6 separate regions of the Homo sapiens genome follow, and all the other regions are linked to region 4. Evidence: promoter capture Hi-C in 16 types of primary human blood cells and fetal thymus (Javierre and others, 2016). All regions are on one chromosome and are shown on one strand. The core of a region is centred on a gene start or on the middle of the fragment in contact, and the rest is flanking DNA. Distances in the headings are between cores, read along the strand shown. Region 1 holds the start of LOC105372548 (a long non-coding RNA gene). Region 2 has its middle 18 kb from the start of DSTN. Region 3 overlaps BFSP1 (beaded filament structural protein 1). Region 4 holds the start of BANF2 (BANF family member 2). Region 5 has its middle 62 kb from the start of SNORD17. Region 6 overlaps LOC107985440 (a long non-coding RNA gene).

Region 1 (3,025 bases), core at 126-2,625, 170 kb before region 4:
CCAGTGCTCAGTAAGAGGGGTACCTTCTGTCCATGCAAGTGGCCCTCCTTTGAGACCCAGCGCCCGACTGCCCAACAACTTGGAGCTGTTTCCTCCTTGTTCGTAGCACTTTCTGGCCTCTTCCCTTGCCGTCTTCAGTGGGTGGCATGGTGGCCCTTTCTCTTTACATTTTTTTCTGGCACTAGAATCTGAGCTCCTTGATCTGCAGGGATTGTGGTTTCCCCACACAGTGCCTGGCACACAGATAGTGCTCAATAAATGCTCACCACGGCAGAATTTAACTGTCTTTGAGGTATCCAGAATATAGAGACAGGTTCCTCCAGCTTCCTACTCCCTCAGGCCTATTCTAAAACAAAACCTGAATTTCTGTCCCTGAAGGCAGGTCCTCCTTTAGCCAACTGCAGGTCTCCTTAGGAAGAGTAAGATTCCAAGTCCTAATTTATCCTTTTTATACCTAAGGTGGATCAGCCCTGATTTTATGCTGGGACCTTTACTTGTACTATTTTATTTAATCCTCAAGATAACCCTATGAAGTAGGTACTGTTAATATCATCCCCATTTTACAGATGCAAAAACTGAGGACCAGAGAGATTAGGCAACTTGCCCAAAGTCACACAGCCAGCAAGCAGTGCACAAGGGATTTGAACCCAGACCCTTCTGATACCAGAGCGAATGCCCTTGAACCTCTGGGCTACACTGCCTGAGGGCTGCAGGGCTCTAAAGGGATAAGGAAGGAAGCTTGGAGGGACTGAGTGCCAGGGGAGTGAGAGGGGTGTGTGTATGAGTGTGTGGGTGGGTGGGGCTTTGCAGGGAGGCGGTTGCTACAGAGGGGCAGGGGAAGGGGGGTGCTGGAACGTGGGGAAGGTAGACAGAGGAGCCCCAGAAGCAGTCAGCTGTGCTGACGATGGATGGGGCAGGAGAAGAGAAACCCCAGGCAAGGGAGGTGAAGCTCTGAGCGGCCACACCAAGCTCTCCCTCCTGCCCAGGGCACAGCGCCAGGCCTTACTTTTGAAGCTAACGAGAAGCAGATGAAGGAGTGGGATGGGCTAGAGGCGGAGACTGCCTCTGCTACGTGGCACCCCTCGGCAAGCCTGGAGCTTCTGCCAGCGGCCAAGAGTGGGGCAGGGCCTTGCAGCTGGACTGTGGGTCTCCCTCAGGGTTTACTACAGCTTGGACTTGCCAGTGCAAGAGGGTGGATCTTATTCAAAGATAGGTTCAAACATTAGCAGCCTCAGTGAACGATGCAGCCTGGGCTCCATGGAGTTGCTACCACCCATAAGAGGGTGTCCCTCCTGCCATGGGCTTCCCTTTCCTTCCCTGACACATGGACAATCCAGCCCACAGGTCTGAGCCCCCCAGAGCAGCTGGCTCCCAGGCTGCGCCATCCCTTCCAGGGAGGGGTGGGAGTGGGTAGTGCAGGTGCTTGGAAGCCAGAGGGGTGGCTCTGAAGGGATAGCTAGGATTCAGGATCCAGGGAGAGCACTGGGGGCTGGGGTGGCAGCCCCCTGTGGGCCAGGACTGGGTGTGTTGGTGACAGCAGCATCCGCAGCACCTTGCATGGTGTGCCTAGTCGATGCATAATCAACACTTTAGTTACGTCACATAACGGCTCTGTAAACAGGATCTGGAATCAGCCATGGGCTTGAACCTCAGTCCCACTATTACTAGCTCAGCAGAGGGCTTGACCCCCCTCCCCAACTTTTTTAGTGACAGGGTCTTGCTCTGTCACTCAGGCTGGAGCGCAGTGGCATGATCATAGTTCACTGCAGCCTTGAACTTGTGGGCTCAGGCGATATTCCAGCTTCAGCCTCCGGAGTAGCTGGGATTATAGGCGTGTGCCACCACACCTGGCTAATTTTTAAATTTTTTGTAGAAATGAGGTTTCACTTTGTTATCCAGGCTAGTCTTGAACTTCTGGGCCCACGTGATCCTCCCGCCTTGGCCTCCCAAAGTGCTGGAATTACAGGCACGAGCTACTGTGCTTGGCCAGGGCTTAACCTCTTTAAGCTTCCATTTTCCTATCCGAGGCTTCCAACTCAGGCAGCTCTGAGCCAGCTCTGAACCAGTCACGACTTGCTGCCTCTTAAAGGTGCAGAGCTCAGCACAGTGCCTGGCACATAGTAAGTGCTTAGTAAAAGCCATCATGGACATTTAATTCACAAACAGGTGGAGGATGCAGCAGAGTGTCCTGGGTCTTCCTGAAAGAAGTGAAGTGATGGCATTTTGTACTTTTCATCATTCATTCATTCAATCTTCATTCAACTCTCCTACAAACCTGGCCTAAAATGCAGGCAGAGTTGGTGTTGGGGAAGGAGATGGCTGTGGGTCCATTATACTCCATGAAGCCTGTTTGAGGGAAAGAAGCAGAGAGCCCTTCAAGTGAACCGGAGGGAGACGGGCTCCTATTAGGAAACCCTGGACTCAGGGAACTGATTACCAGAGGAGCCTCACAGCAGCCTCCTGGGAACGGAAGGTTACCAGGCAATCCGGGGCTGGGTCACTTCTCTGCCGGCCTGTGCTAGTCTCCCTGCGCACTGACTATCCCCGCGAGACTCTTCTGCTCCCCCAAACTCAGCATGCAACAGACTACGGGTTGCCGTGGTAACAACCAGGGCTCCAGTTTTATATGTTCTTACCACTTCCGGGTCAATACCACTTCCAGGTCAATACCACACCCGGGTCAATACTACCTGACTGTGGTTGGGTCTTTTTGAGTTCAAATTCTGTCGCCCTCTCATAAGTGGGGGGGCTATCTGTCTCAAACCTGATAGTTTGCTTCTTCCTCATCAGCAAGAAGGGGGATCACACTCCCAAAAAAGGTAGGCACGCAAAATTGTCTCCTATGAACAGAACAAAAGACCAGCACCTCCCAGCAGCCTTTTCAGATAACTATCTTCACACCATTTACACCATCTTTATTTATCCTCTTACCTCTCTTTCTCCAGGACTGTTAAGAAGCTGAGAGCCACAGTAAAAAGCCACAAGGATGTCCCAAGTTACATTTCCAACCTTGTCACCTGCTTCC
Region 2 (3,332 bases), core at 101-2,600, 150 kb after region 4:
TTGTTTAGTTGTTTACTGTCTCTTTAACCCTAATAGAATATCTGCTCCATAAGTATAGGTACTTTGTTTTCTTCATCACTGAATTGCCAATGAATTTTTCGAATGTCACTTGGCACATAGATGATAAACACTAAATATTTGTTGAAGTTGTTGATTGAAGTAATTGTTCTTTCATTGAGGATTTTTGTTTTTGTTTTTTTGTCTACCCTGTGAATTTTATTCCATGGATTTTAGTTGTTCTTGTTGAGTTTGGCATTTCATCCTCATAGTTTCTTCCCCACCACTTTCCTGAAACTGCTTTTACTCATATGACCATGGAACGTCACATTGCTAAATCCAATGGCCAATTCTTAGTCCTCATCTCATACAACATAGTCAGTCATATCTTCTCTTCACTTTGAAACACTTTACTTACTTGGCTTCCGGAATCCCACACACTCTTCCTGATTTTCCACCTACCTATCTGGTCCTTTTCAGGCTCCTTTGCTGGTTCCTCTTCATCTCCTAACCGCTGATCTCCAGAGTCCCCATGCATACTAAGTTCTTAGACTTCTTCTCTTTACTCTCTGCACTAATTCCCTTAGTTTTCTGATTCAGTTTCATGACTTTAAATATCTTCTCTCTGCTGTTGGTTCCCAAATTTATGTCTGTCCTTGACCTCTCTCCAGATTTCTGACTTGTAGATGCAACTGTCTATTCAACACTTGCCCTTGGATGTTTCATAGACATCTCAACTTCTCATAATTAAAACAGAAATCTTGATATTTTTCCCCCAAATCTGCTTCACTTCCAGTCTTCCCCATCTTGTAAATGTCAATTTCATCCTTCCAGCTTCAGATTTTATCCTTGTCTCTTCTCTTTCACATCCCACATCAGTACATTCTGTTGGTTCTACCCTCAAAATATATATAGAATTCTATCACTCCTCATTACCTCCATTGCTATCACCCTGGTCTAACTCACCATCACCTCTAAACTGGATTACTGCAATGGTCTCTTGGCTGGTCTCTCTGCTTCTGCTATTCTCAGCACAGCCATGAAAGCCATGCTGTTAAGTTGTAGGTCAGTTTATGCCACTTCCTTGCCAAAATTATCAAAGGCTTCCCTTTACTCTCACAGTGAAGCCAAATCCTTATGGAGGATTTGTAGAAATCCCGTGGGATCTGTCCTCTCGTTGCCCTTCCTGACCTCATCTGACCCGCACTCTATCCTCACCTGCCCCACTCTTGCCATGATGGCCTCTGCACCCTTCCTTGAACAAACCAGGCACATCCTATTATATTTATTCTTCCCCATGTTTAGAACGCTCTTTCTTCAAGAATCCAAATGGCTTTCCCATCACTTCCTTCCGTTCTCTACTCAGATGTAACCTCCTCAGTGAGGTCTTCTCTGACCACCCTGTCTAAAATTACCAGATGCCCCACCATCCTCCCAGTTCCCTTTTCTTTATTTTTCTCTGTAACACTTATCACCACTTATTATACTCTATTTTTCACTTATTTATCTTATTTACTTTCTGTTTTCTCCAATTGAATATAAGCTCCACAAGAACAGGGATCAGGGATTTTTATTTTCTTCTTTTTTTTTCTTTTTGAGAGAGAGTCTTGCTGTTGTCGCCTAGGCTGGAGTGCAATGGTGTGATCTCGGCTCACTGCAACCTCTGCCTCCTGGGTTCAAACAATTCTCCTGCCTCAGCCTCCTGAATAGCTGGGATTACAGGTGCCCGCCACCATGCCCAGCTAATGTTTTTGTATTTTTAGTAGAGACGAGGTTTCACCATGTTGGTCAGGCTGGTCTTGAACTCCTGACCTCAGGTGATCCACCCGCCTCTGCCTCTCAAAGTGCTGGGATTACAGGTGTGAGCCGTCACACCCAGCCTTATTTTATTTTTTTCACTTCTGTATCCCAAGGCCCAGAAGAGTGTTGGCACAGGGTAGGTTGTCAATACATATTTGTTGAATAAATACATGAATAAGATTGGTGGTGTAGATGTACAAGTGATTTCAGGTACAGATGTGATACCTAAGGGTAGCAGCCATCTGTGAGCTTGAGCACTGATATAGTTTGGATGTTGTCACCTCTAAATTTCAAGTTGAATTGTAATCCCCAATGTTAGAAGAGGGGCCTGGTGGGAGGTGATTGGATCGTGGGTGTGGATCACTCATAAACGGCTTAGCGCCTTCTCCCTGGTGCTGTCTTTGTGACAGTGAGTGAACTCTTGAGAGATCTGGTCATTTAAAAGTGTGTGGCACCTCTCTGCCTTCCTCCCACTCTCACTGTGTGACCAGACAGCTCCCCCTTTGCCTTCTACCATGAGTAAAAACTCCCTGAGGCCTCCTCAGAAGCCGAGCAGATGCTGGTGCCATGCTTCCTGTACAGCCTGCAGAACCGTGAGCCAACTAAACTTCTTTTCTTTATAAATTACCCAGTCTAAGGTATTTATAGCAATGCAAGTATGGCCTAATACAGGCACTAAGCCACATACTAAAGCCAGCAGAGTGAAGAGTTGGAATGAACCTGGGACTGAAGGCTCCACCACACTCGCCCTGAACTGCCTACCTCTGGACTGCATGTCATCATGTTAGGGAAGCAGGAGCATAGGAGAGCCAGAGTGGCACCATTTTAAAATCAACTCCATCGTAAAACTGGCAAGGCACATTTCTTGTCTATCATGACCTGTGGTTATATGATGTTTACAGCTGAGGAAACAGCTTAACAATGCCTGCAAGGATAAACTATGACAGAAAAAAATGTCCAGATGTCCTGGTATTGCATAATAATACATGCTTTTAAAATGATTGTAGTTGGCCAGGTACGGTGGCTCACGCCTGTAATCCCAGCACTTTGGGAGGCCGAGGCGGGTGGATCACCTGAGGTCAGGAGTTTAAGACCAGCCTGGCCAACATGGTGAAACCCCATCTCTACTAAAAATACAAAAATTAGCCGGGTGTGGTGGTGGGCAGATGGGCACCTGTAATTCCATCTACTCAGGAGGCTAAGGCAGGAGAATAGCTTGAACCTGGGTGGCAGAGGTTGCAGTGAGCTGAGATCACGCCATTGCCCTCCAGCCTGGGAGATAAGAGTGAAACTCCGTCTCAAAAAAAAAAAAAAAAAAAGGATTATAGTCATGCTTTGATGTACTTATGCACTAAAATGCCAAGAACAGTTTTCTTTAAATCAACAAACTAATAAATCTTGTGACACTGTCAGCCCCCCAACAGGTAGATATAGCTTAACTTTTATATAGGTAAGACCCTATATAAGAAAAATTTAAAACAAAGATGAGACATTTCTCCTCTTGCTTTCTGAGGACACCCTACTCTGTAACTAAG
Region 3 (3,478 bases), core at 486-2,985, 170 kb after region 4:
GAAGCTCATGTTCTCCAAAGCAAAGGGGGAAAGTGCCCTGTGGCTCAGACATCCGGGGCAGCTTGATGGACCATCAAGATTCCCTGGATGGCCTTTGTGTTGGCATTAGACCATAGTCTACTGTACTTTGGCTGGTAAGCATGACATCCATGAGTCCTAGTTGAAGGAAAGGCCATGTTGGGTTTTCCTGGTCTTTACTGATTGCACTTGGTTCTGAGTTATATGCCCATCATGAAGCAGTTCCATCAGGCTCTGTGATTTATTTAAAATTCATATTAATTTATTCCCTCCCTTTGCCCCCTTGGAGAAGTTTTGACATTTGGATTGTGGTAGTGGGAACTGAAAATCATTATAGAAATGCTCATCCACATCCATAGGCACACACACATACACATACATGCCAGGCTGGAGTTTACATTCCAGAGGTGAGTTGATGGCTACCTAAAGCCAGGGGAAAATAATGCAGCAATGGGTTAGTATGTGCAGGCTTGGTTCCATGCCAGTGCTAGGCATAGTCTCTACCTGGCAGTTGAATAATTTCAAAATCAGGTCTTTAACAGGTCAAAGACTAAACAAAACACTGAATAAAACAAGAATGAAATAAAAACAAAACTATCAAAATACAACAACAGAGTCAATTATTCAAATTGTTGAAAACTAAAAATAATTTATGTAAAACAGTTAATTGAAGCCAGTTTTTTCACTTTATGAATATACTTATATGAATATACACATCATGAATTCTTTGTAGTGAAATCACTCTCTCTCTCTCTCTTATTTTATTTTATTATTTTTTTTGATACAGAGTCTCGCTCTGTCACCCAGCCTGGAGTGCAGTGGCGTGATCTCGGCTCACTGCAAGCTCTGCCTCCTGGGTTCACGCTATTCTCCTGCCTCAGCCTCCTAAGTAGCTGGGACTACAGGCGCCCACTACCACACCCTGCTAATTTTTTTGTATTTTTAGTAGAGACAGGGTTTCACCGTGTTAGCCAGGATGGTCTCGATCTCCTGACCTCGTGATCTGCCCGCCTCGGCCTCCTAAAGTGCTGGGATTACAGGCGTGAGCCACCGCGCCCGGAAATCACTTCTCTTTAATATAATATCTAGACTTGTCTTTACAGCATGAAAATTACTCACAATATCAGGTTAATGTGTTGATCCTCAAACATGTTCTTAAGCTATGGAAACTCTTAGATATTTCCAGCAGGAAAGAGCAATAAGAAAATTAGATTTTATTAAGTTTTATTCTCAAAGCTAATTATACATTTAAAAACTAATTTCTGGCTCTGTTATTGCAACACACAAAATAAACTACTAAATGTAACATCCTGATGTGAAATGTAAAACTTATGCAGAGATGTTTAGTTTCCTAGATAGAACTCAGCTTCGCAGATGGTTTTAGATCTGGGAATGCGTGCACATTGCACATATTCATAATTGTTCTTCCTTCAGTTCATGACTTTTCCTTCTGAGAACATGGTGGTGTGGTTTTCTAGCACCTTTCATGGTTGCAGAATACTTGACTTGAACCCATGGCATGGGCATGCAAGGGCACAGAAAACTATGCTTTGTGGATTGGGCTCAGTGTTAATTAGGATTGCTTTCAACTATAAAGGACAGAAACTCCAAACTGACATTGACCCACTTCAGACCAATTAGGATGGCAACTATAAAAAACAAAACAAAACAAAAAACAACAGAAAATAAGTGTTTGTTAGGATGTGGAGAAATTATGGACTGTTGATGGGACTGTAAAATGGTACAGCCATTGTGGAAAACAGTATGGCAGTTCCTCAAAAAATTAAAAAATAGAGTTACCATATGATGCAACATTTCCATTTCTGTGCATATACCCAAAAGAATTGAAAGAGGGTTTTGAATAGCTACTTGCATATACGTGTTCATAACAGCACTGTTCACAATAGCTAAAATGTAGAAGCAACCCAAGTGTCCACTGACAAAGGAATACGTAAACAAAATGTGGTCGATACATAGAATATTATACACCCTTAAAAAGGAAGGTAATTCTGACATATGCTACAATATGGTTGAAACTTGAAGACATTATGCTAAGTGAAACAAGCCAGTCACAGAAAGAAAAATATTGTATGATTCCACTTACATAAGGTAGTTGGGCGTGTCAAATTCATAGAGACAGAAAGTACAATGGTGGTTGTCAGGGCTGGGGATGGGGAGAATGGGGAGTTAGTATTTAATGGGTACGGAGTTTCTGCTTTGCAAGATGAGGAGTTACAGAGATGGATGTTGGTGGTGATTTCACAACATTATGAATATATTTACTATCACAAACTATATACTTAAAATGGTTAAGTTGGTAAATTTTATGTTATGCATATTTTACCAGCCCCCCCCCCCCCCCCCCCGCCATACAGAAAAAAACAGAAAAAGTGATACTGGCTTACCCAAAATGTCATTGGCTTATCCAAAATGTTTCTCACTTGTGTAAGGTCTGGTTAAGCAGTTTAGTATGATACTGTACAGTATTTGGGACACAGAAGGTTCTGTGTGGCCTTCAGGAAGGCAGCATTCATGTTTCTGGCTGCAGGATGGAGGGAGGGATGGAAAATGAGAAGCAAAGGGCACACATACACCATTACTTAACTAAAGGTATCTGGAAGCTGCCATGCAGACTTATGCTTCCATCCCATTGGTCAGGACTTAGTCACATGGCCACACCTGGCTGCAAGGAATGCTGGAAAATGTAGTCTCCCTTCTAGGCAGTCCTGTGCTTGCCAAGCATCAAGGGCTCTAACTCCTGAAGACAGCAAGAATGGGCATTTGGGGGTCACCTTATAGGGAACAAGGGGAGGGGTCATTTAGGAAGGAATCTTCTCTCTTTAGGGTTAAAATTCCCCCAGAGGGACGTGCCTCAGTTGTCCCAGCCGAGCAGAAAAGGAGCTGGGGTACTTATGCTCCAATTTGCCTCATTCAGAGTTTGTGGGCTGCTCCCAGAGGCCCTGACTCCCTGGCACGTCCAGCCTGCCCCACCCATTTGCCCAGAGGAGGCCATCGCTGTGTGGGGAGTGATGCTGCTGGGAGGAGGGAAAAGTGTGCGGAGCATCTGCCTGAGTTTCCTCATCTTTAATGCAGCACTAACAATAACTGCTTTCTTCTGGGGTGATGTAAGGATTAAATGACATAATCCAGAAAAACTGACAAATTACATGTGTCAGCAAATAAAATACTATAGGAAATCCAAGTACGGTCAGGTTAATGGTGGTGTAGATTGTGCAGGGCAGTCTCCCATCTCTGCCACTGCTGCACTTGGGTTATAGATAGGCTAGGATATAATTCCCTCATCCTTGGGGTGGCTGGGAATAAGGCTGTAGGGGCTGGGGTTGGTGCCTTCGGGCTGGGAGACTCCTATTCCGCTAACTGCCCCTGGTTACCCCACGCGGTGTGCAAATGGTACCACTTTCTGATTGGGAGGCAGTCAGCTAGGAAATGCAGCATTCGT
Region 4 (3,163 bases), core at 511-3,010:
TCCTTGCCTAACAGAAAGTTTGCAGCCGTCCTTAAGGCGTGACCCACCTGAGTTCAATCGCAGAGGGTGGGCAAAGTACTAACACCCAGAAACCTACAATCTTGGATTTGGAAACAGCCTTTAAAGGTCTTTTGGTCCAGCTCCCAGCTGATCACAAGAATCCCGTTCCCTTCCATGCTGATGGAAGAGCCGTGGCCTGCACACTCTTGCTGCCTTGCAAAGCAGCCCATTCTCTTTTCAGAGAGCTCTAATGTTGGGGATAGTCGATAGAGAGTGAAGGCATGCTCCAGGTTAATGACCCTCTTTAGACGTGGCACCAGCACAGAACAGTCTTCAGTTTCTATGTCTGTAGAATGAACCTGAGAACACCTGCTTCACAGAGGTCGGAATTAAGAGCAATAACATAGCTGGTGGGTCTGGCACGGGAGGTTCAGCGTTTGCTCCCTTTCTCCTCTCCAAATTAAACCTGCTGCAGGACGGGGACCACAGGTTGCTCTAGCGCCGGCCCCTCTACTGTCTTTTTTCCTTTTCCAGTGGGGCCTAACATAGGCTAAAATGTTCTTAGCATGCTTGGTGAACCATTGGCGTCTTGGATTTGTGTGTGAAGCAGAGGTTGGCTTCAGCCCATCACATATAAAACTAAGGAGGGATGGCAAAGCCTAAGGGTAAAATATTTCTCTGATCCACCCCCCACCACCTCCCTTTCTACCTTACACAGTCAAGGAGAGCCAGGAGCCTTCTTAAAATCATGGGGTCCCTATAGAAGCCACTCCTTTGTGGGAGAAGGGACGCAGCTGCAGCTGTGTGGACGTGTTGGCACTCACAGATGGTGAATGGACCGTAGACAGACTGTGGGAAAACACGAATGGGCCATGGTAGGGAAGGCAGCTGTGCCTCCTGGGGCCCAGAACGGGTCCCTACTGTTTGTTATAGAAGGCCTTGAGTCTCAAACCACCCTCAGCCGAGTGCAGGTGGCCCATATGGAAAGAGCCAGCATCCTCTTTGAGAGATGGCTTTGGCCTCTGTCCCTGTCCCCGCTACCTTAGATTTTGCCCACTTTCCTGGTGTTCTAATCCATCTCCTTATTTCCCGTCACGATCCTAAAGCTCTCTTACTGTCCCAAAAGGAAAGGAAGTGATTTGATATACCAGCAGGTCACCAGGAGGTGGATTTAAAAACAGCCAAAGCAGGAAGGCCTCTTACAGAAAGGAAGGACCGTCGTTCACATTTTGGACGGGAGGTGGCTGTGTCAGCTACCTCTGCTCATCCTGCTATGTGGTGTGTCATTTGGCCAATGGCTGTCCCTGACCTCAATTAGGGCTAGAAGTGATGCTCTAGTGAATTTGCCATCTGAAAGCCTGGCCTCTCTGCTCTATTAAGAACACAGGTGACCTTTGCCCAGGGAGCTGGTGCAGGTGGCAAGCCGAGTCTTAGGGGAGACTAGAGTACCACCTCCCGCAGATGGTGACACAGCAGGAAGAGGCTGGGAAGGGGTGTGTGCATCAGGTGAGTCAGCTTTCCTAGGAAGAGTTTGGGGCTTACCTGGTGAACTCCTGTCCACCGGTTTGGCTCATCTAAACCTGTGTGAGAATGAGACCTTAAAGTGCTAAGACAGCCAGCTGTTGGCTGTATCTCCTTCCATGCTGCTTGGGAAAGTTCTGAATACTCACCAGGTGCTCCTGATAAGCCAGTGGCAGCTGGCAGTTTGTCTCAGTCACCTTGGATCTGGAACTGCAGGCCAGAGGTTCAGCTTATGTCTTAGGCCCATGGGGCAAATCAGTCTCAAGATCCTGAATGGACTACATTGTGATGTCACACCACAGGTCGGGGGTGAGCACAAAAAGGGCTGCAGTGGCTGCTGGCATCAGGGCACAGGGCAGGGCAGGAGCAAGAGCCTCAGGCCTCTCCAGAAGAAATCAGCCTGTCTGGGTGCTGTTCTCAGCTGGGGTTGCTGGGAAAGAGTGAGGGATGTCTGCTGTACAGAAAACATCAGCCTGGAAGACTGCTTATGAATCCACCTGCTGCCACTTGCTGCCACGGTTCCTATTCTCACCTGGCCTGCGTCAATTCAGTTAAACCAAGTCCATCCTTCATGCAGTTTTCCTGCACAAAGTGACTTCCGTGGGTACCCCCAGCTCCTTGCACATCTTCTGTGATGGACTTGAAATTCCAGGGCAGCTTTTTCTTCTACCAGTATACCCGTGACTTTCCCCCTACTGCCCACCTGGTAGGGACTCAAGGAAAGAGAAGTAACTTAAATATTAGCTCAGGAAAACAAGCAGAAATATAAATCCTCCCACCTTCAAGTTAAATTCAACACAGGTGTCTTTTAGGTTATCCTCTATAGCATATATGCCTGGGCTACTTTCCATTGTTGGTAATTGATAACTTGGTACAATGTATATTTACTAAGCCTAAAAAGAAAAGAAAAACTCAAAAAAGGGGGCAAAGTATAAAATGTTTCCAGAGATTCCATTCCCTTTTGCTGCTGGTGCTTGGGATTGGGGATGGAGGAGTTCTAACCAAGAGCAAACGGCTTCGCTTTGGAAACTGTTGGGTGGCCCTAAATTTTAGAGTCCAAAACAGTGGGTCTTAAACTGTAGGTTGCATTAGAATGACCTGGAAGACTCGTTAAAATACAGATTCCTGGGCCCCACTCTCAAAGTTTCTGACTCATTAGGTCTGGGGGAGAACCCAATAATTCACATTTCTTACACGTTCCCACATGACGTTGAGGCTGCTTGCTCTGAGACTACACACTTTAAGAACATGTAAGGGTGCTGGTATCTTAGGTTTGATCCTGAAATAGTATTGCCAGCTGATGGCAGTATTCAGGGGTTGCTGGAGAATAAACAGGAGCTGTAGCTTTGGGGCCAAAGCTGGCTGAGCTCTCTGGGTTCAACCAGCACGCTTTACTGAGGATCTATTCATTGCCAGAACTGAGCCACGTTTTGGGGAAGCACAACTGACGTTGTCAGTGCCCTGCCCATAGCCTCTTGGCCTTACAACTTCATTGTACAAAGGTAATCTGACTCCCAGCTGCCAGTACCTGCGTATCTTTGCTTGGGGGCTTTTGCCAGCTGCTGGAGTCCACCCTGCCTACAAGCGGGCAGCTGCAAGTTGCAGAATGTCCTCATTCAATGACTATTATCAGTTGGTAGAT
Region 5 (3,411 bases), core at 53-2,552, 200 kb before region 4:
TGCAGCTGAGGTTGGGAGCTCCTGGTCCATGGTCTGCGTTGCAGCACGGCTAGAGCCGCACATCTGCAGAAGACAAGAAAGACCCTCCTAAAGGGCTTCTTCCTTCATCTAAGTTTTCATCACAGGCAAACTCTGTGTGTCCAGTGTACTTGGGGCTTGTAATTTTCCTCCAAGGACCTGTAGGACCCTCTCCAAGTTTGAGCAGGTCTGGCATCCCAGGGTGCTAAGGCCTGCTGGCAGCTCACGTGCTTGGCCCCAGGTACTCTGGGAGCTGTGAGAGTTCGACCCAGAAAGGTGGATCCCTTGAGAGTTCTGGGCAGGGCCACAGCCCCCTTGGTTGGAAAGCGACGGGTCCCTTTTGGTGCTGGTGAGCTGTAAGCAACAAAGCTGTTGCCAAGGGCCTCTGGAATATGACTGTTTCTGAGGCTGTTACAAAATTATATTAAATTCCCAAATGATGGTATTCATTGTAATATATGCAAGCTTTTTAATGTATCAGCCATGCTTATATCAGGTGTGGTCACCTAAGAGTTTTGATTGTTTTTGCTCTTTTATTGATGCATAATTTGCATATAGTAAAATACACAAATCTTAAGTGGATGCTCAATGAATTTTTACCTATGTATACACTCATGTAACAACCACCAAGATCAGGATAGAGAACATTTCCATCATTCTAGTAAGTTCCTTCAGGCCCTTTCTCACTCAATCCCCATCTCCCACTGCCCTAAACAAGTAGACACTATTCTGACCTCTCTCATCATATGTAGATAAGTTTTGCCTTTTATTTTTTTATTTTTTATTTTTATTTTTTAAAAAGGGGTCTTAGTCCTCTGTGACTCAGGCTGGAGTGCAGTGGTGTGACCATAGCTCAATGCAGCCTTGAACTCCTGGGCTCAAGCGGTGCCCCCGCTCCAGCCTCCCGAGGAACTGGGACTACAGGTGCACACTACCACACCCAGCTAATTTTTAAAAAATTTTTTTGTAGAGATGGGGTCACCCTATGTTGCCCAGGCTGGTCTTAAGTTCCTAGACTCAAGGGATCCTCTGGCCTCAGCCTCTCAAGGTTCTGGGATTACAGGTGTGAGCCACACTGTGCCTGGCTTATTTGATATCTTGTGATCAATATTGTGTTTTTGAGATTCATTCATATTTCACGTAAGAGCAACCCATTCATTTTTCTTGCTGTGCTGTACACCACAATGTATTTATCTATTCTTCTATTGATGGGCATTTGAGTTGTATTTAGTTTTTGGCTGTTATCGATTTAGCAGCAATGTGTATTTTTGTACATGTTTTTTGGTGTGTGTACGCACTCATTTCTTTCAGGGTATATACCCAGGAGTGGAACTGCTTGGTCACATGGTGAGTGTATGTTTAATTTTAGAAGAAACTGCCAAATGGTTCTCCAAAGTGCTTGTACTGGTTTATACTTCCACCAGCAGCATGTAAGAGTTCACTTCCTCCACATCCTCACCAATGCTTGATATTTTCAGAAATTTAATTTTAGCCATTCTAGGGAGTGTATAGTCACAGCATATTGTGGGTCTAATTTGCATTTCCCTGTAACCATTGAGGTTGAGCATCTTTTTTTTTTTTTTGAGACGGAGTCTCGCTCTGTTGCCCAGGCTGGAGTGTGCTGGCGCAATCTCGGCTCACTGCATCCTTCGCCTCCTGGGTTCAAATGATTCTCCTGCCTCAGTCTCCCAAGTACCTGAGATTACAGGCATGTGCTACCACATCTGGCTAATTTTTTGTGTTTTTAGTAGAGACAGGGTTTCACCATGTTGGCCAGGCTGGTCTCAAGCTCCTGACCTCAAGGGATCCACTCATCTCGACCTCCCAAAGTTCTGGAATTACAGGCATGAGCCACCGCGCCTGGCTGATGTTGAGCATCTTTTTATGAACTTACTGGCCATTTTGATATCCTTTTGTGTGAATGCCTTTTAAATTCATTTGTGCATTTTTTTTCCTATTGGATACCTGACACCTTTAATAAAGATAAAAGGGTTATGAAATAGCACCTTACTCATGCCAGGAGTTAAGAGGAAACTGAAGTGGGTTTGTGAAGAAAGTGATGAAGAAGAGAAGGACCCTACTTCTCAGGTCTCTGAAGCTTATTGGTCTCTGTCTCCCCAGAACCTAGCACACAGCTCGGCACAAGACAGGAACCCAACAAAAGTTCATCAAATAAGGGGACTGTCCTTGTTTTGGGGGGCTGTTGTGGACTTTGCAATGCATGATCCTCTTTACTATTCCATCTCTCTGAAGCTACATCAGACCCTGGGACCCCTCCAATTCTGGACAGGTGGCCCACAAGTAGCCTCAGGCCACGGCTCACTGAGACAGCCCAGATTGTCTTGCTGATTAGCCTGCTTGAATCCCATGGAAAACCTCTCCTGTCACTGGGGTACTCCATGAGCCTCGGGGATTGCATCATTATTTACATCCCAATTTCTTTAAATTCAAGATTTGTATCCAATAGCGTTGGTCTCCCTGAACCTGGATCCCCAGGTTCTCAGAAGAGTCAGGGACCGCAAGCTGCCTTCACCAGCCCAGATCTCTGCTGAGCACTTGTTCTACCCGGGATGAGTTCCTGAAGATAAACCTTTTGTGCATTGTGTTATTTTGTGTGCACAACTCAGCTAAGTGGCCTCCAGCACTACTCATCATCCCGCCGCCTGGCTACCAAGAGGCCCAATCAGTATCTGTGGAACGAGTGGATAAAGAATGATTTAGGGTCCAATCCATTTCCCAATCCAGTAAGCCATCTTTCATTTCCACCATCTTGGGCCAAAGGAAAAAAAAATGGGAACATCTTTCTTTCTTTCTTTTTTTTGTGACAGAGTCTCACTCTGTTGCCCAGGCTGGAGTGCAGTGGGATGATCTCAGCTCACTGCAACCTCTGCATCCCAGGTTCAAGCGATTCTCGTGCCTCAGCCTCTTGAGTAGCTGAGATCACAGATGTACACCACCATGCCTGGCTACTTTTTGTATTTTTAGTAGAGACGGGGTTTCACCATGTTGGTCAGGCTGGTCTCAAACTCCTGGACTCAAGTGATCTGTCCTCCTTGGTCTCTCAAAGTTCTGAGATTACAGGCGTGAGCCACCGTGCCTAGCCAGGAACTTCTTTTTATGCTTTACCAGAAACTCATCTTGATGTTTTCTTGTTCTTGATGATTTTGCTAAAGTCCAGACGTTCCTTGATCATCGAACACTTCTGTGTCAGCTAAGTTGTTTGAAGCAGTAAATCCCAGCTCTACATTCCCTTCATAATATGTGTCCAACTGAAAAAGAATGTTAAAGAAGACAATAAAATGCTTAATGGTAGAGTTCTGAAATAATCAGAATTAATCAATCAATCATTTATTTATTCAAATGACCGACACTTATTATTATGTATCTCTGTGC
Region 6 (3,327 bases), core at 595-3,094, 130 kb before region 4:
CTGGCTCAAGCGATCCTCCTGCCTCAGGCTCCTGAGTAGCCGGGACTACAGATGTGCACTACCACAGCTGGCTAATTTTTTTATTCTTTATAGAGATGGGGTCTCACTATGTTGCCTATGCTGGTCTCAAACTCCTGGCCTCAAGCAATCGCCCTGTCTTGGCTTCCCAAAGCACTGGGATGACACATGTGAGCCACTGCACCAGGCCTTTTTGTTTCTTTCTATATTTGAGAATAGTTGCGGAGATATCTTGAGATTTTATCCAGATATTTCCACATGTCTTTTCTAAGATAGTGAGCATTTTCTCACATAAGAATGAAACCATGACCACCCTCAATGAATTTAATGTAGATACAAGCCTGGTCTCTTTACATGGCCCATGTCCAAATGTTGCAAGTTGTCCTTGTCATGTCCATGTCCCTTTTTATCCAGTCAAGACCCGCCTCCCTCCATTGTGCCTCCGCTCAAGCTCCTCTCACCTGGAGCCACCTTTGGGCCTGTCTTGTCTTTCATGACCCTGATATTTCAAAGCATTCAGTCATTTGTTTGACAGACCGTGCCTCAATTTGGATTTGACTAATTGCTCTTCAGGAAGAGATTCGGGCTTGTATTAGTCAGTTTTCTGTTGCTATAACTGAATATCTGAGACTGGGTAATTTGTAAAGAAATGAAATTTATTTCTTACAGTTCTGGAACTGGGAAGTTCAAGGCTGAGGAGCTGCATCTGGTGAGGGTCTTCTTGCTGGTGGCCTTCTTCTGCAGAGTCCTGAGGTGCTGCAGGGGATCTTGTGGCAGAGGTAGGAGCAAGAGTCAAGCTGGCTTTTTAATGACCGACCGCCATGATAACCCAAGAACCTATTAATACACGAATGGCCCTCATGATCCAGTCCCTTTTTAAAGGCCCCACCTCTCAATGCTGCCATATTAGGAATTAAGTTTTAAGATGAATTTCAAAGGAGACAAACCTTCAAACCATAGCAAAGTCAAGCTTTTTTGAAGGGACAAGATTAATCATAATTTTTATTCTATTTGTGTGCATGTGTGTCCTTTTTAGAGATGGGTCTCACTCTGTCCTCTAGGCTGGAGTGCAGTGGCTCAATCATAGTTCACTGCAGCCTTGAACTCCTGGGCTCAAGTGATCCTCTTACTTCAGCCTCCTGAGTACCTAGGACTACAGATGTGTGCCAATGCACTCAGCTAATTGTTTTCTATTTTTTTAGAGGTGGGGTCTCACTATGTTGCCCAGGCTAGTTTTGAACTCCTGGCCTCAAGCAATCCTCCCATCTCAGCCTCCCAAAGCAGTGGAATTACAGAAGTGAGCCACCATGCCTGGCAAAGAAGGTGTACGAACATACACACACTGGAGTCTTTCTTCTTCTCTTGCCCCTCAGTGGGTGACCCAGTTCCCATCCTGGCAGGCAAATCACATTCCCAGTGTCTGTCTCCTTCCACAGATGATACAAGGGGAGTGTTTAATGGTGTCTCCTGCATCTGTAGCTGGATAGTTTGATCAGTGGGTGTGTCTGATTGTGTCACTCTCTTGCCTAGAAACCGTGGAAGGGTCTTGGAAGGCCAACTAAGATCTTGCTTGGCCCACAGGATCTAGTGCTCTGGCCCGGCCCACCTCACAGCCTCACCTGGTTCTACTCTCTGGCTTGGAGAGACCCCACCACGATGGCCTCCCTCCAGCCTCCGCACAGACCCTTGGATGTGCCATTCCCTCTCTCTGGAAGGCTTTTGCTCCCTTACCCCATCAGCTACTCATCATCCTGCATGTCTTGGCTCCCAGCCCCTTTTCCTCTGGGAAGTGGTCGCCAAATCCCAGGCAGGGTCCTATCACCTGGTAACACCCCTCTCAGGGACAGTGTATTCGCTGTCTGCTCCAGGAGGGAGGAACCTCTTCTAATGTGGGCACCAAGCGCCGTGCCTGGTGCATAATTGGCTGTCAGTAAACATTTGTGGAGAGAGCAAATGCACTCATGAATCCCTCACATCACAGAAGGCGGGGCCAGAGCCAGGGTGGAGGTGGGAGTAGAGGAACTCCGGGGCTGGCTGCTGAGGAAGGTTCTCTCTGATGGTGCAGCAATAGCAGGTCAAGCCCAGGGTCAAGATAAGGAGCCAAACGTCCCAAAGGTCGTAGGTGGTCAGCGATGGGGCCAGCTGGATGTTGCCAGTGGGTAACACTCCTGCTCTGCCAGGTCTGAGGCTCAGAGTTCCCAAAGGAGCAAGCAAGTTCCTAGGAGAGGAAGAGGAGAACCAGACTAGGTATCCGGTCAGGAACAAGGGACCCAACAAAATGAGGTGGGAGACTTGGGGCTGAGGTGCGGGCGGTTGCTCCGGATAATGACAGAATGGATGTGCAGAGGCCTGGCCATCAGCCAGGGTCCTGCACTGGAGATGTCCCATGGAGAAGGCAGGGCCGAGGCCCAGCAAGGCTAATACAATTCTCTCTCCAATGTCTGGAGCCAGCTTAGGCCACAGAAGGTATAGACCATGACATTGACCCAGCTAAGTCCTACAGTGTCCGTTGGGCCAGGAAAGGTTGTTTAAGGGATGAACAGGACAATCTCTGCAAACAAAAAAGTCTCACATTTTTGGCCTAAGGCCAGAGGGAAAAGCAAAGTTCACCAACAACAGCCCCATGATCCCTCTCCACCTTCCACCTGAAGTGAGAGGCAGGGTGAAGCCCAGCAAAGCTTTCTGCACTGTGTGACTGCAGGGGGCAAAGGATATTCATGGAGAAAAGAAAGAAAAACCCCAACAGGGATTTTCTTCAGTGCATGGAACTGGTTTTGTTTTATTTTGTTTTTTAGAGTTTCCTGCAACTTTCTATTTTTTTTCTATACATGAATGCCAATTATTTTTACACTTTTACCAAAGACAAAACCCTTTTCAAGGATTCTGTACGCATCCCCTGAGAGTACTGGTTCTAAACCTTGACTACATGTTAAAATCACCTAGGGAACTTTAAATACGCCAATGCCTGGGTCCCACCGCGAGGTGATTCAGATTTTAGTGCTTGGCAGTGTGGCCTGCCCAGGTGATTATAATGTGCAGATTGAGAGCCACTGCCCTAAAATGAGTATGCACTAGAGAGGTCGAATAAAAGATATGCTCTTACCAAGCACCCATATCCAGGAAGGCCATGTTCAGTTGTATGAGCTGCGTACTGCATACCTCCAGGGGACACCATTTGCATAGCCTATAACATAAAAGTGCCTCCCTGGAGTTATGCAATGTGGCAGCCTTGTAAGTATGGATATATAAATTACATATTCATAGATACATAATTTAAACATTGATTGCATCTGTTCACTATAATTCTCA

What was found. The method cuts DNA at HindIII sites, captures the fragments that hold promoters and counts their contacts. A CHiCAGO score of 5 or more calls a contact.
Region 1: a contact is called between a fragment that was not itself captured here and the fragment with the promoter of BANF2 in region 4, in 1 of 17 cell types (M1 macrophages). The highest score is 5.2, in M1 macrophages.
Region 2: a fragment that was not itself captured here is called in contact with the fragment with the promoter of BANF2 in region 4 in 1 of 17 cell types (neutrophils); the score reaches 5.3 in neutrophils.
Region 3: a fragment that was not itself captured here is called in contact with the fragment with the promoter of BANF2 in region 4 in 1 of 17 cell types (fetal thymus); the score reaches 5.0 in fetal thymus.
Region 5: a fragment that was not itself captured here is called in contact with the fragment with the promoter of BANF2 in region 4 in 10 of 17 cell types (total B cells, M1 macrophages, naive B cells and 7 more); the score reaches 12.2 in total B cells.
Region 6: a contact is called between a fragment that was not itself captured here and the fragment with the promoter of BANF2 in region 4, in 2 of 17 cell types (naive B cells and M1 macrophages). The highest score is 5.3, in naive B cells.

The regions. Positions count from the first base shown.
Region 1 is chr20:17,872,174-17,875,198 of GRCh38, reverse strand. LOC105372548 (a long non-coding RNA gene) reads right to left here and starts at 2,563. Exons shown (of 4, transcript XR_937297.3): 1 at 2,479-2,563; 2 at 2,276-2,346. The HindIII fragment of the contact is 1,269 bases long and covers 741-2,009 here.
Region 2 is chr20:17,550,247-17,553,578 of GRCh38, reverse strand. It overlaps a transcript of BFSP1 not described here. Among named protein-coding and RNA genes, the nearest start is that of DSTN, 18 kb to the left of the region's middle. The HindIII fragment of the contact is 3,996 bases long and covers 1-3,332 here.
Region 3 is chr20:17,525,048-17,528,525 of GRCh38, reverse strand. All of the region lies in intron 1 of BFSP1 (beaded filament structural protein 1), which reads left to right. Among named protein-coding and RNA genes, the nearest start is that of BFSP1, 4.6 kb to the left of the region's middle. The HindIII fragment of the contact is 4,339 bases long and covers 1-3,478 here.
Region 4 is chr20:17,698,563-17,701,725 of GRCh38, reverse strand. BANF2 (BANF family member 2) reads right to left here and starts at 1,760. Exons shown (of 4, transcript NM_178477.5): 1 at 1,671-1,760. It overlaps LOC105372547 (a long non-coding RNA gene), which reads left to right and starts at 1,867. Exons shown (of 2, transcript XR_937294.2): 1 at 1,867-2,227. The HindIII fragment of the contact is 11,340 bases long and covers 1-3,163 here.
Region 5 is chr20:17,899,028-17,902,438 of GRCh38, reverse strand. No RefSeq gene overlaps it. Among named protein-coding and RNA genes, the nearest start is that of SNORD17, 62 kb to the left of the region's middle. The HindIII fragment of the contact is 1,633 bases long and covers 486-2,118 here.
Region 6 is chr20:17,827,140-17,830,466 of GRCh38, reverse strand. LOC107985440 (a long non-coding RNA gene) reads left to right here. Exons shown (of 3, transcript XR_001754511.2): 2 at 688-797. Among named protein-coding and RNA genes, the nearest start is that of BANF2, 130 kb to the right of the region's middle. The HindIII fragment of the contact is 1,708 bases long and covers 991-2,698 here.